5 separate regions of the Homo sapiens genome follow, and regions 1, 2, 3 and 5 are each linked to region 4. The links are contacts of gene promoters, found by promoter capture Hi-C in blood cells and fetal thymus (Javierre and others, 2016). All regions are on one chromosome and are shown on one strand. Each heading gives the region's core, a stretch centred on a gene start or on the middle of the fragment in contact. The rest is flanking DNA. Distances are from core to core; before and after follow the strand shown. Region 1 has its middle 11 kb from the start of PCCB. Region 2 overlaps PCCB (propionyl-CoA carboxylase subunit beta). Region 3 has its middle 14 kb from the start of MSL2. Region 4 holds the start of SLC35G2 (solute carrier family 35 member G2). Region 5 overlaps PCCB (propionyl-CoA carboxylase subunit beta).

The links. The method cuts DNA at HindIII sites, captures the fragments that hold promoters and counts their contacts. A CHiCAGO score of 5 or more calls a contact.
Region 1: a contact is called between a fragment that was not itself captured here and the fragment with the promoter of SLC35G2 in region 4, in 4 of 17 cell types (neutrophils, total CD4 T cells, fetal thymus and 1 more). The highest score is 6.3, in neutrophils.
Region 2: a contact is called between a fragment that was not itself captured here and the fragment with the promoter of SLC35G2 in region 4, in 1 of 17 cell types (neutrophils). The highest score is 6.0, in neutrophils.
Region 3: a fragment that was not itself captured here is called in contact with the fragment with the promoter of SLC35G2 in region 4 in 1 of 17 cell types (fetal thymus); the score reaches 5.1 in fetal thymus.
Region 5: a contact is called between a fragment that was not itself captured here and the fragment with the promoter of SLC35G2 in region 4, in 1 of 17 cell types (neutrophils). The highest score is 7.1, in neutrophils.

What each region holds. Positions count from the first base shown.
Region 1 is chr3:136,237,973-136,240,672 of GRCh38, reverse strand. No RefSeq gene overlaps it. Among named protein-coding and RNA genes, the nearest start is that of PCCB, 11 kb to the left of the region's middle. The HindIII fragment of the contact is 2,133 bases long and covers 343-2,475 here.
Region 2 is chr3:136,255,260-136,257,959 of GRCh38, reverse strand. It overlaps PCCB (propionyl-CoA carboxylase subunit beta), which reads right to left. Exons shown (of 15, transcript NM_000532.5): 2 at 1,985-2,104; 3 at 1,337-1,405. Among named protein-coding and RNA genes, the nearest start is that of PCCB, 6.3 kb to the right of the region's middle. The HindIII fragment of the contact is 3,549 bases long and covers 1-2,700 here.
Region 3 is chr3:136,209,101-136,211,837 of GRCh38, reverse strand. No RefSeq gene overlaps it. Among named protein-coding and RNA genes, the nearest start is that of MSL2, 14 kb to the right of the region's middle. The HindIII fragment of the contact is 2,568 bases long and covers 152-2,719 here.
Region 4 is chr3:136,817,797-136,820,629 of GRCh38, reverse strand. SLC35G2 (solute carrier family 35 member G2) reads right to left here and starts at 1,504. Exons shown (of 2, transcript NM_025246.3): 1 at 1,002-1,504. RefSeq lists silencers at 307-356, 1,420-1,479. The HindIII fragment of the contact is 16,057 bases long and covers 1-2,833 here.
Region 5 is chr3:136,280,734-136,283,433 of GRCh38, reverse strand. All of the region lies in intron 5 of PCCB (propionyl-CoA carboxylase subunit beta), which reads right to left. Among named protein-coding and RNA genes, the nearest start is that of PCCB, 32 kb to the right of the region's middle. The HindIII fragment of the contact is 8,625 bases long and covers 1-2,700 here.

The DNA.
Region 1 (2,700 bases), core at 160-2,659, 580 kb after region 4:
AGCCAGGATACAAGAAATACTCTTTCTTTTTCCTTTATTCTCCATCCTCGCTTTTCCTATCCCTCTTCCAGCTGCTTAGAAAATTCTAAGGCAAGAGTCATGGCACTAGATTAAGAAATGTTTGTTTTAATTAGTGGCCTCTCTTCTTCTTTTTCTTTTATAATTCCTCCTGCATTTCTAAAAGACTATATGAGTTATGATACTTTCACAATTATTTTTATTATAATGGGTGATTTTGAGCTTTTGGTATGAATTATGCTGTTCTAAAGCAATTGAGGTTAACATCTAGAAACTGGAAACAAATTAGCTATTCATATATGACTCCCCATGAGATTATAAGCTTATTTTGGATAAGGACTCTATCATTTTTATTTCTGTGTTTCCAGTACCCAGTGGTTCCAGATACATGGGGTATTCAGTCATTGAAAGAACTTTCTCTCTTGCTACTCTAGTTTCTCTGTGAAGAGGGGATTATCTGACGCTCAGCTCCATTACTAGAGCCAGCTTCTTTCCCATGAACCATGGGAAACCTATCTAGTTTCCTACGGGTGGTGTTGACATTTAAGATATACTCACTGGGGAACATCAAAAGTAATAAAGATTGCCACCACACCCAGCCCTTTGCATTCTTTTGACCATGTCTTTTAATACACAAACTTTTAAATAAAATAGGTTTTATCTTCCTACCTGACATATGTATTTTCAAGGCTGGGTGCGGTGGCTCATGCCTGTTATTCCAGCACTTTCGGAGGCAGACGGATCATTTGAGATCAGGTGTTCAAGACCAGCCTAGCCAACACGGTGAAACTCCGTCTCTACTAAAAGTACAAAAATTAACTGGGCATGGTGGTACGCGCCTGTAATCCCAGCTACTCAGAAGGCTGAGGCAGAATGGCTTGAGCTGGGAGGTAGAGATTGCAGTGAGCCAAGATTACGCCACTGCACTCCAACCTGGGAGACAGAGCAAGACTCCGTCTCAAAAAAAAAAAAAAAAGTAATAAAGATCATTACTTTTTATTAGGATATGGTTCTTCCCATCCAACTCGCTCAAAATTTCAACCCTATGATTGATGTAAGTGTGATCCTGAGTGAATGAGAGAAAGAGGGAAGGTTGGGAAGAAGCATTCTTAGACTGCAGTGCAGTCTAAGGAAAGTCAGCAAGAGAACTAAATGAAGCGGTGCCACCACTGTACCTTCTGCAGTTACCCTTAGTTTGTTGTTTTGGAAAGACAGACAGAAGCAGGGGAGGGAAGGAAAAGAAAAAGTGAAAAGAAAAACAATATTGTTTGAAGGCTTAGAAAACAGCTGCAACAACAGAACTTTCCTTATAACCCCTTTTGTATGTAAGAAAGGATTAAGTAAATATTGATGCATTCCTCACTTCCAGAACAATTTATAGGCTAGAAAGGGCGCTGGAGAGGATTGCCCTCATTATGAGCTAGTGAAGGGTTTCTGGTAGGATGGAAAGCATGCTTTGGTGCTGTAAAACTGGATTCCAAATGATACTAACAAGCAGTGTAACTAGGCAAATCAGTTCATCTCTTTCAGCTACAGTTTTTTCACTTATAAAATCATGATAATAATATTGACCCTATAGAATAGTTGGAGGGATTAAATTAAGTGAGAAAACATATGTAGAGTACACGGTATGCAATAGATGTTTAATAAGTAAAAATCCCGGCAGGGCGCAGTGGCTCACGCCTGTAATCCTAGCACTTTGGGAGGCCAAGGCGGGTGGATTGCCTGAGCTCAGGAGTTCGAGACCAGCCTGGGCAATATGGTGAAACCCTATCTCTACTAAAATAAAAATAAAAATAAAAATAAAAAACTAGCTGGGAGTGGTGGCATATGCCTGTAGTCCCAGCTACTCGGGAGGCTGAGGCAGGAGAATTGCTTGAACCCGGGAGGCGGAGGTTGCAGTGGGCTGAGATGGTGCCACTGCACTCCAGCCTGGCAACAGAACAAGACTCCGTCTCAAAAAAAAAAAAAAAAAAGTGATAATCCCACTCTAGTTTGGAAAGAGAATCCAGAATAGATGGGAAAGACAATGTACATGAGAACTGATCCTGGATACCTAAAGAAGAAAATGAATTATTGGAAGGAAGGAATTATCAAGGGGGATAGAAAAGAGTCAAAAAGCAAGATAATCTAGAAGCAGAAAAACACAGCTAAGCTCATGCCACAAGAACAGTGGACATTGACCTAGATACCACTATTGACAGACCTTGCTGTGACTGCTTCTGGATTTGCAAGGCCACTGTGAATAGTTTTCATACTATTGCGTATCTTTGCATAGTGGGCTCCCCCACTTATAATATTGAGTGGGAACATCAAATTGGCAGAGACTGAGTAACATGCTCACACCCCAGCATGAGAAAGATCTTAGAAAAGGACAAATGATCTCTATATTGCTTAAAATAATGCTAGCAACTGTAACAAACCCCAAGGTTTAAGTTACTTAACATAATAGAAGCTTGTTGTTTACCCTGACATTCTAGTGTAGCTATTCTTCCACACGGTGGGCAGCTTTCCCCCTTGCGGTGATTTAAGGACCCAGGCTTCTTCTGTCTTGTGGGTTCATCATCCCTAGATTTGTCTGTATTCAACTGGAGAATGGGGAAGAAGACAAGTGGAAGGGAAGCCCTGTTTATTAAAGACCCCACCTCCACCTGGACGCAAGGGCAAGGATGACAATGTACT
Region 2 (2,700 bases), core at 61-2,560, 560 kb after region 4:
TATAACTATTTTATTATTTTTTTGTTTGAGATGGAGTCTCACTCTGCCACCCAGGCTCGAGTGCAGTGGCGCAAACTCGGCTCACTGCAACCTCCGCCTCCCAGGTTCAAGCGATTCTCCTGCCTCAGCCTCCCAAGTAGCTGGGATTACAGGCACCCACAACACCCAGCTAATTTTTGTGTTTTTAGTAGAGATGGAGTTTCGCCATGTTGGCCAGCTGGTCTCAAACTCCTGACCTCAGGTGATCCACCCATCTCAGCCTCCCAAAGTACTGGGACTACAGGCATGAGCCACCACGCCTAGCCAATTTTAATATCAAACTTTAGGTCTGTAAAAAGACCTAAGCATTTTAAATTATATACATATTTCCACCTCTGGAGAGAAAAAAGTCAAATCCAAAATAGTACACAACATATTCTGTGTTAGTTTTCTATTACCGCTATAACAAATTAATATAAATTCAGTGCCTTGAAACAACACAAATGTATTATCTTATAGTTCTATAATTTAGAAGCGCTACACAGGATTGACTGGGCTAAAATTAAGGTTGGCAGGACTGTGCTCCCTTCTGGAGGCTCCAGGGGAAAATGTGTTTTCTTGCCTTTACCAGCTCCTAGAGACCATGGGCACTCCTTTGCTGATGGTCCCCTTCTCCCATCTTCAAAGCCAGGTACTGCAGATCATGTCCTTCTCATATCACATCCTTATAAGCTCCTCTTCTACCTCCCTCTTCCACTTTTAAGGACCCTGTGATTATATTGGGCCCACCTGGATAAATCAGGCTACTCTCCCTATTGCAAGGCCAGCTGATTAACAACCTTCATTCCCTTTTGCGTGTAAAATAACATATTGATAGCTTTGGCTATGTGTGTGAACAAACTGTATCTGTCTTGATGCACCCTGATAAAATTTTCTGAACATATTCATGAAAGCCCAAAGCTCAGGGGGACTCTGGTTCTGAGAGTCAAGTCCCCTTTGCGAGGCTGCACCCACTGCACTCTCTCTAGTCCACATACACTGCCCAGGACACAGATGCCCTACAGGCACACACCCAACCCAGCTAAGAGGAATCTCATTCACTTGGAATAAATTCCTGGTTCTTGGGATACCTTTGTACAAGGCTAGTGCCCTGTGATCCCCCCCAAAACAGACTAAGGACTCTTCCTAAGTAAAAAACACACAATATTCTGGAAACACGCACTGAAAAGCAAAGCAAATCCCTCATTTTCCCCAAACTACAAGCAAGTTTTCATTCCCCAAGATTGGCTTCTTTCACATATTTTCCTCTTGGCTCTGCCCTCCAAGAAAAGTTCAGACTATTGGAGTTATGAAATACCTGACTGAAGACATAAACCAATCTTCCATTGATTCGGCCTCGTCCAGTGACCACGCTGTCTCCAGGAAACTACCAGAAAAATGCAAAAATAAAGGTTAAAAAATCCAAATACTTCTTCTAATGAGTTTGGCCACTATGCCTCAATGAAAGACAAAAACAAAACCCAAATTCCTAAAACGTCAATATGAACAAGGAACATGAAGGAATCCCACCCCACTTTCCCAGCTCTACAACAGCAAGCACAGGGCTACTACTTCATCAATAGGAGTGAATGGCACTGTCATCTTAGGCCTTATGTACCCTCCTAAAAGCAAAACAATCAAGACCCAGGGCCACCACTTCTCTATGCTTACATGAAGGAGGACGTATAAAGAAACACAAGGCAGGGTACGGTCGCTCACGCCTGTAGTCCCAACACTTTGGGAGTCCGAGGTGGGTGGATTGCTTGAAGCCAGGAGTTCAAGGCCAGCCTGACCAACATGGCGAAAGCCCATCTCTACTAAAAATACAAAAATTATCTGGGCTTGATGTCTGCAGTGCCTCTGCAGAGGACTTCAGATAAAAGCCTTATAGATTTATTATTATTCTAGTGGGTAGGCCAGCTGAGCCACACCTAAAAAGTGTTCACACCACCATTTGAACAAATACCTTATTCTTATCAGCAGCCATTCCAAAATCTGCACATCTGTGTTCCACAAACATGTCGCTCTCAACAAAGCTGCCAGGGTCCAGCAAGAGACTGATCCTCTCCCTGGCTGTTAGCTTTCCCTACAATGGAACAAAGATCACTCAGTGATGTCATCACAGACAATTTAGTAAGCAAAGCAAGGGCTGTTCATGGGAGGGCTTGAAGGGCAGATTTGCCCGTTGATCTCAATGCAAGTACTTTCATTCTATCCAACCTGCCCAAGGCAGATAGGTGTTATTAGTAGACTTTAGATGACATGGAAATCAGGACAGACAGTGTGCGCCAGAAGCCACCCAACTGTGGAAGATGAATAAGGAAATAGGACGAGGAAAAGGTAGAGAGAAGTGGGGATAAGGAGAACCTGACCCTGGAACACAATTAATTAGTTCCACAAATACTTACTGGAGACCTAAGGAGCCATAAAAAGAATGCAGAAGCAGGTGGTGGAAACTAAAGCAGGCTTAGTGAAGGATCTGACACAGGTTTTTTCTAGGGAGACCTACAGAAGCACACCTCACCTCACGAGGGTCCCTACTGCTCCCAGCTCCCACCTCAAGGACACGCTACTTCCTGGTTCTTCTCCTGCCTCCTCTGTGGGCTTCTCCTTCTCCTACTATCCTATCCCCTGTTTAGGGACCCCACACCTGACAGTGACACTGTGACACAGAGATGACCC
Region 3 (2,737 bases), core at 186-2,685, 610 kb after region 4:
TGACTAAATTATGGCCAAAGAAATGTAAGAAAAGTGTTATGTGGGCTGCTTAAAACTGGAGGCTGGTTAGAAGGTGCTGACTCAGCTGGGAGGTGGGCCCTTGTGTTCCCGTTTTGCCTTGCTGTTAGTTGAAATGTGAAATGCTGAAGCTTCAGGAGCCATCTTGGACTATTAGATAACCTTGAAGGTAGAAGGTATATATTTGGATGGTAGAGTATGAAGACAGAGCCTGGATCCCTGATAACAGTGGAACTGCCATACTAACTGTGCATGGCTTTCTTCCAGACTTTCTTTTTTACATAGAATAAGCCAATTTCTATTTTGCTTTAGCATTGTTATTTTAGGTTCTCTCTGATTTCGGCTAAATCCAATTCTGATTCAAAGTTTTAAATTAGACTATATTTTATTAACTAAAAATAACCAAAGTTATGGAATCTGCCCAAGACATAACATAGGGACAAGAAAGGGCAATTTAATACAGCAATGTTCAAAATAGTCATTGGATAATTTTAAAAAGTCAAACACTGGGGGCCTTCTGTGGTTTATTTTTATTTTTTTAAACTGAGGCAGGGTTTTGCCATGTTGCCCAGGCTGGTCTCGAACTCCTGGGCTCAAGGGATCCACCCACCTTGACCTCCCAAAGTGCTGGGAGGTTGCGCCACCCACCGCCAAGCTCCACTATGCCCAGTTCCTCTGTAGTTTTGAAGAATATCGTTTCAGTAGAGTTGTGGGGAGAGAAATCTGATTTTAAGAGACTAAGAAATAGTTAATTAAAAATCAAAATAAGGTTTAATTCTTGCAAAAGATTGACAGATCACAAAACAGGACAGATGTGGACTGAAAGATGGATTTGGGAGCATACAGCATAGCTGGGCAGAACTGGGGAAGATAGTAGTGAGGGACAGAAGGCTGAAGACGTTAAGACCTGGAAAGTTTCTATGCTCACCACTATACCACCGGATGCTGAAGAAGTAGGACTTGGGAAAACCATGGAGCAAATTCCTGGAGGAAACCAGAAACAGAGAAAAGAATGACAGGAAGGGGAATTGTGGAATATTTTGATGTAGAAAAGAAGGAGATCTTTATTTTCTCCTTGGAGGTAAAGAAAGAGGTAAAGTCCTCTGCTAAGAATTGGAAGGCAGCCGGGCACGGTGGCTCATGCCTGTAATCCCAACACTTTGGGAGGCCAAGGTGGGTAGATCACCTGGGGTCAGGAGCTCGAGACCAGCCTGGCCAACATGGTGAAACCCTGTCTCTACCAAAAATACAAAAGTTAGCTGGGCATGGTGGCATGTGCCTGTAATCCCAGCTACTCTGGAGGCTGAGGCAGGAGAATTGCTTGAACCCGGGATGTGGAGGTTGGAGTGAGCCGAGATTGCGCCCCTGCACTCCAGCCTGGCGACAGAGCAAGACTTCATCTAAAAAAACAAAAACAAAAACAAAAAAAAACAATGTGGGGATGTGGAAAAGGTTCAGGAAAGCCCCACAGCACAGTTAAGGACTATAACCTTCAAATGAGACTTTAATGGTAAAAGAAGTTACCATTTGGGATGCCTATTGTCTGCTGGTTATTATGCTAAATTATTTACACACATTACCTCACTGAAAATGAAACATCTTTCCAGTTTGCTGCCTACCTCTCCTTCTGATTCTCTTTTGTGGGATCCTTTCCCTCTGCACTTTGTTTAAATATTGGTGGTCATCACAACTTCATTCTTAGCATTCTTCTCTTCTTACTCCTCCTGGGTAATTTCTATCACTCCCATAGTTTCTATTGCCATATGCTGCTGACTCCCAAGTCTATACCTTCAAATCAAATCCCTCACCCCTATACCCAGGATGCCAGATTCATTTATCCAACTGCCTATTGGACATTTAATTTGGATGTCCCATAGCCACTTCACACTGTACCTGTCCAAAACCTATATTCATAATTTCCCTCCAAACCTATTTTTCCTACTGAGTTCCCTCCCTTTGTGAATTTATAGAATAGTGTTAAGAGTAGCGATTCTGGAACCAGACTGCCTGGATTCAATTCTTACCTTATGTTAGCTGTGTGACCTTGAACAAATTATTAGACCTATGTGCCTCAGTTTCCTCATGTGTGAAATGGGGATAATAATAATAGTACTTACTTCATAGTGTTGTTGAGCATATTAAATGAGTTAATATATTTAATTTTTATTTTAGACAGGATCTCACTCAGTTGCCCAGGCTTCAGCTCAGTGGCATGATCATGGCTCACTGCAGCCTTGACCTCTCAGGCTCAGATGATCCTCCCACCTCAGCCTCCTAAGTTTGTGCCACCACGCCCAGATAATTTTTTTTTTTTTGAGACCGAGTTTCGCTCTTGTTGCCCAGGCTGGAGTACAACAGCACAATCTCGACTCACTGCAGCCTCCGCCTCCCAGGTTCAAGCGATTTTCCTGCCTCAGCCTCCCAAGTAGCTGGGATTACAGGTGCCTGCCACCACACCTGGCCAATTTTTGTATTTTTAGTAGAAATGGGGTTTCACCATGTTGCCTGGGCTGGTCTTGAACTCCTGGACTCAAGTGATCCACTCACCTCGGCCTCCCAAAGTACTGGCATTATAGGTATGAGCCACTGTGCCCAGCTTCAAGGTATTATTATTATCTCCATTTTATAGATAAGAAAACTAAGGCTCAGAGAACTTGAATAATTTTTCCCAAATCTACACAGTAAGTATTGAAATAAAGCTTTGTTCATGCTATTCCAC
Region 4 (2,833 bases), core at 255-2,754:
GTGCGTAAATGCACATACCTGTATCTTTCATAAGTATATGTGAGAATTCCTGTTTACGCTCATGGTGTGTACTTTCTCATAGGTAATAAAATCTGTTATGCATATGCTTATCTGTACCTCCAAGGCAAGCCACATTTGCTTTCGGGTTATGTTCAGGAAACCAGCCTCAACTTGTCTGAAAAGAGTTTCAGTGTTGGGCCTGCTCCACTCTGGCCACCAGCCATGGAGATGGGCTATTTTTGGCAAAGGTGCAGAGTAGAAGGGCAACGCAGGCCGCGGCCCAGGAAGTCAGTCGACGAGGGCGCGCGAGGCACTTCAGCACCACGGACATAGGCAAGCCTGAGCCAAGTCCTTTCCCGCGGAGGAAGATCGCTCCTCCGGAGCTACCCCCAGCCCTCTGGACCTACCCCCAGCCCTCTGGACCCACCCCCAGCACTCTGGACGTGGGGGGTTACTATCTCCAGGTCCTCGATCAACACTCGGACCCGAGCTTTCCGCCTCGCTCCTCGCGGAGCCGGGTGAAAGAAAACCTGGCCCGAGATGCAGGTCCGCGCTGAGCCTTCATCCGCCGCAACACGAGTCTCTTTCCTGCCGGCCCGCGCGACCCTTCTTCCCTCTCCTCCTCTCAAATGAGGCCAAATGGGTGCACGTGGCGTAGAAATTCTACAGCGCCCAGAGCACTGTGAGGAAAGATTCGCCTTTTCCTCCCCGTGGCTGCTGGAGGCTGTGCGGACTTGCCCTGAGCCTTCTCCGCCACTCTCGGCCGTGACGAGGCCCTTCCTCCACTAACCCTTGCCCTCGTCTTCCCTTGGGAAAAGATGTCTACAAACCGTCGATGTACCACGAAAATCTCAGCGCCCACAGACTGGCGTTCAAGAGTCATGGACATGAGACAAGAGAGTAATGGAAAATACAAATTCTTGGCCATATTTCTAAAATCATCCAGCCTTTTTTAAAACTTGTATTTGAAATTGATCCCATATGACGCCACAGTGACTCACCCCTTGCTTGGGTTGGCTACTGGGCGAGAGGAAAGCAACAGCCCCTGGCCTTCATCATGGACGCTGCAGGAGGGCCCAGACACGCGACAGCGGAAAGAAACGGGAAACCGGGCCGTAGCCGATGCTGGCCCTCCCGTCCCCGTGTCCCGGTTCTCCAGGAGGGCAGCACAGAGAAATGCGGGCCCCGCGGCCTTTCAGGCGTCGTGCAGAGCACCCCGAAGTCTGCAAAGCGGGCGGGGCGCGTCGCCCCCAGCCCGGCCCTTACCCAAAAAGACTGTTGTGCCCCTTAGGTGTGGCGGCTAAACGCGGGTGTGTGGAGTTCGGGGTCCGCTCTCATTCCCTTGTCGGGCGGCCGGGCAGGCAGGATCAAGGTCCCAGTCCGCCGCCGCCGACCGGCTCCCGGGGCCCGGTTACCTGCGTGTCGTGGCGAGGAAGGTGCCCCGGAGGCGACTGACGCGGGCGTGCCCTCGCCTGGGAAAATCGAGGCGGGCGCTGCCCGGAGTACTGCGGAGGGAGAGGGGCGCCGCCGCGCGGACTCTGCGCCTGCGCTCTCCGCCCTCCGCCGCCCCCACCCCACAACCTGACTGGCGCCGGAGTTGGAGACTGCGGGGGACGCTCAGGGTTGTGCCTGAACTGAAGGACTTCCTCTACCCGCGAGGTGGGAGGGTCCACGGGAAAGCGCCCGCCCGGGCCCCTCTAGCTTACGCCCTTGGAGGGCGCTTGTTTGAAGCAATTGCCTGTCTGCCAGGGCTACGTAGTCCGCTGCAAGTGGGCACGGAGGCAGTTTCTGTCCATTTCCACCCATTGTTTGCGCTTAAAAGTCGCAAGTCTATTCCTTCATGTTTAAATATGTGTCCAGCATCGGAAAATCGTGGTCCGGAAAAGTCTTCGGGCATCCCCGAGTCCACCCGCCATTTTACTGATAAGGTCTCTGAGGGAAGGGTCTTGACACTGCACAGCTGGTTCTTCTACCCAAGTGCATATGCCCCAGTCCCAAGTGGAATGAATATAGCCTCTTGGAAACAGACTGGTCATTAAAAGCAGTGGATTTGATGGGTCCAGGGGACAGGCAAGAAAGGGTAAGGGCTGAACCAAGGTGCTGGCTGTGGGAAAAAACAGGAGGTGCTTGCTGGTTTTTCCTCTGTCCCTTCAGACCCACTCTCCACTCTGCTCTGTGACTCAGGACTGACCTTTATGGGCTACGTCAACTATAATCTGGCTTTCAATTGGTTTTGGCAAGTGGGAGGCACCTGCAGATCAGAAGGCAGGATGTGATTCAGGACCTCCCCTGCATCCCCAGCGGGCCACCCTGTTAGCAGTGGCTATGTTCTTCATCTGAAAGCCATTACTCCCATCCTGTGGCCCTCTCCTGCAGTTTTCTCCAGGTTCTGGTTACCACTAACTACCCTTGCCCCTTCAGGCCTGGAGTGGGTAATGACGCCCAGAGGTTTCCTTTAACCCCATCCACACCTTTTTAAATAGTCCCTTCATTAAACTCTCCTCAACTATCCCATCTTTTCCCCACCTTTCCAGGACGCTATAATAGATTTTAGTCCATTGCGGTTGGCAAAATTCATGAGGACAAAAATATATGTAAAAGAAATACGGGGCTTTTAAAAGGCGAGAAGTCTTCCAGAGCCATCTTGACAGTTCCCTGGGCTCCAGGCAGCCAGCATGCTAGGTGGTCTCCCCACTGGGCCCCATAGCCCGAGGGTGCTAGTTTAGGTAGACCCAAGAATGGAATTCAGACTGCTCATAAACAGTGTGATCACCAAAGGGCTGGGGATCATTTCAGAGTCCAGCATAACAGGATTTTGGATTCCTCTTGAGGT
Region 5 (2,700 bases), core at 37-2,536, 540 kb after region 4:
CCCTGACCTCTATTTTGAGTCCCTCCACACCCTCCACAGAAGGCACGCAAGGGTACAAGCAGGTGCTTCTTGACACTGAGTACCCAGTGTCTACTCTGCCCATCCCCAGACAAGGAATGCAGGAGAGAAGGCGGTAGAAGGAGCCAGAAAGCCTCCATAAGGACACTGTGTTGTGAAGGACTAAGCCTCAGGAAAGATAGGATGTGGGGGCTCAAAAGACCCAGGCAAGATGATAAAAGGCCCAATTATTCTTTGCCCTACTTCCAAATTCTTTCCTTCTCCTAAGTCCCATCAGCTTAGGAAAAGTAGGTTCACTTTTCAGCCTGCCTTGGCTCTAAGCCCAATCTATACACAGCTAAGGACAGTGCAAAATGTAATCTATGCTTTCTGCAAAGATATCAAGGTAGTAGGGGAGACTTCCAGCTGTGGCAGAGTGAAGAGTTCAGAAAATTCTCTCCCCAAAAACAACTGGACAGCATTGTCAAAAACGAGTATTTTGGGGTTCTAAAAATGAGCCAAATGTAACAAATTGAGAAGTGTTTATTCATGAAAAACTACTAAACTTGAGATAAGAACAGTGAAAGCCTGTGGCATTCTTAACCAAGGCTGCCACCATTGCCCATACCAGCTCAAAATGTCCTACTGGATGAAAGAAAATAACACCAGACTATAATTCAAATCCACAAGAACCAATTAAGAGTGCTGAAAATGATAAATATGTGATTATAAACACTGCATAAGTATAGTTCTCTTTTCTTAATACTTTGAAAAACAAGACTGTATAAAGCAATAATTAACACTGTTTTGAGTATTACATAACAATAAAAGCACAAATGAAGGGGGAGAAAATGGAGCTACATTGGAGCAAAGTTCCTGTCTTACCAGAATTAAGTCAGTATTAATTTGAAGCAGACTGTGATAAATTAAGAGATATATAGTAACCCTTAGAGCAACTACTAAAAATAACTCAAAAAATACAGCTAAAAAACACTAGAAATTAAAATGGTACACTAAAACTATATGCTTACCATAAAAAAACTGAGTGACATCACAGAAGAGAGAACAGGAAGCTCCAAGAATATCTGAGATCAAAACAACTATTCAGCTGTCTAAAGCAACTATTTTTGAACTCTGGAGTCTACTCAAACACTTCAGGGCCCAGAGGAGAATTTGATAAAACAGCAAGTAAATTTCAGTAAACTTCACATTTATTAATAACATGGCTGCTATAATCCCCCAGCCAACAACCCATGGCAGGTAGCCACGAGGATGTTCCTAGTGTAGCTAGTTGGTGCCAGATTGGGAAATTAGAACCTTTGCATCTTGGTTTTTCAACCTTGAAAAATCAAGGTTGTATGTTCTGATTACTGACCACTGCTTTTGATGGCTGAGGGGCTAAGCATAGAGGCTGGCATTGTTTCAACCCTGATTGGCTCAAGCAGCTTCCCAGCCACAAGGGATTTAAAAAGGTAGTTTGTTCCACACCCCTCCACACTTCTGGGAGACAGACATTTAAGGAAATTACTGTCAGATTGCTGGTTAAACACAGTGATAAGAGAACTAAAATTTCAATGTCCATATTAAAAAAGGAACATACTCTTTGCAAAAACAGCTTGCAAAAGTTCAAACAGATGGACCCAGCAGTTGACAAGCAAAAATCGGCTATTCCTGAAAAGTAGGAGAACTAGACTTCCAAACTTCCAAACATAATATTCAGAATTTCTCATCCTCAACAAAAATCACAAATCATACAAAGAAATAAGCAAGTATGGCCCATTCACAAGAAAAAAATAATTTAACAAAAATCATCTCTGAAGAAACCCAGATATTGGACTTAATAGTCAAAGATGGCACATGAACTGTCTTAAATATGTTCAATGAGCTAAAGAAAGCTGTGGGGGGAAAAAACTACAGGAAATCAGGAAATCAATGTCTGAACAAAATGAGAACACCACAAAGAGACAGAAATTATGAAAAGGAACCAAGCAGAAAGCCTGGAGTTGACAATAACTGAAATGAAAAATTCATTTCAGGGGTTCAACAGCAGACTTAAGCAAGCAGAAAAAAGGATCAGGAAACTGGAATACAAAACAAAATAATCTAGTATAAGGAACCAGAAAAAAGAAAAGGAGAAATTAATAGAGCCTGAGGGACCTGTGGGAAACCAAACATACCAATATACACATTATAGGAATCTCAGAAGAACAGAAAGAAAGGGTCAAAGATTTGAAGAAATAATGACTGAAAACTTCCCACATTTGATGAAAGACATAAGTATACATACCCAAGAAGCTCAACAAACTCCAAGCAGTATGAACTCAAAGAGATCTACACGGAGACATATTATAGTCAAACTGTCAAAACACAATAAGAGAAACTTGAAAGCAGCAAGATAGAAGCAACTGATCCCATGCAACTGATCCTCAGCAAGATTAACCATGGAGGCCGGAAGGCAGTGGGACATATTTAAAGTACTGAAAAGTCAGGTGCGCTGGCTCACACCTGTAATCCCAGCACTTTGGGAGAATGAGGCAGGAGGACCACTTGAGGCCAAGAGTTTGAGACCAGCCTGGACGATATAGTGAGCCCTGATCTCTACAGAAAGTTTTTTTGGTTGGTCGGGCATAGTGGTGTTCTACTAGCTACTCAGAAGGCCAAGGTAGGAAGACTGCTTGATCCTATAAGGTCAATGCTGCAATG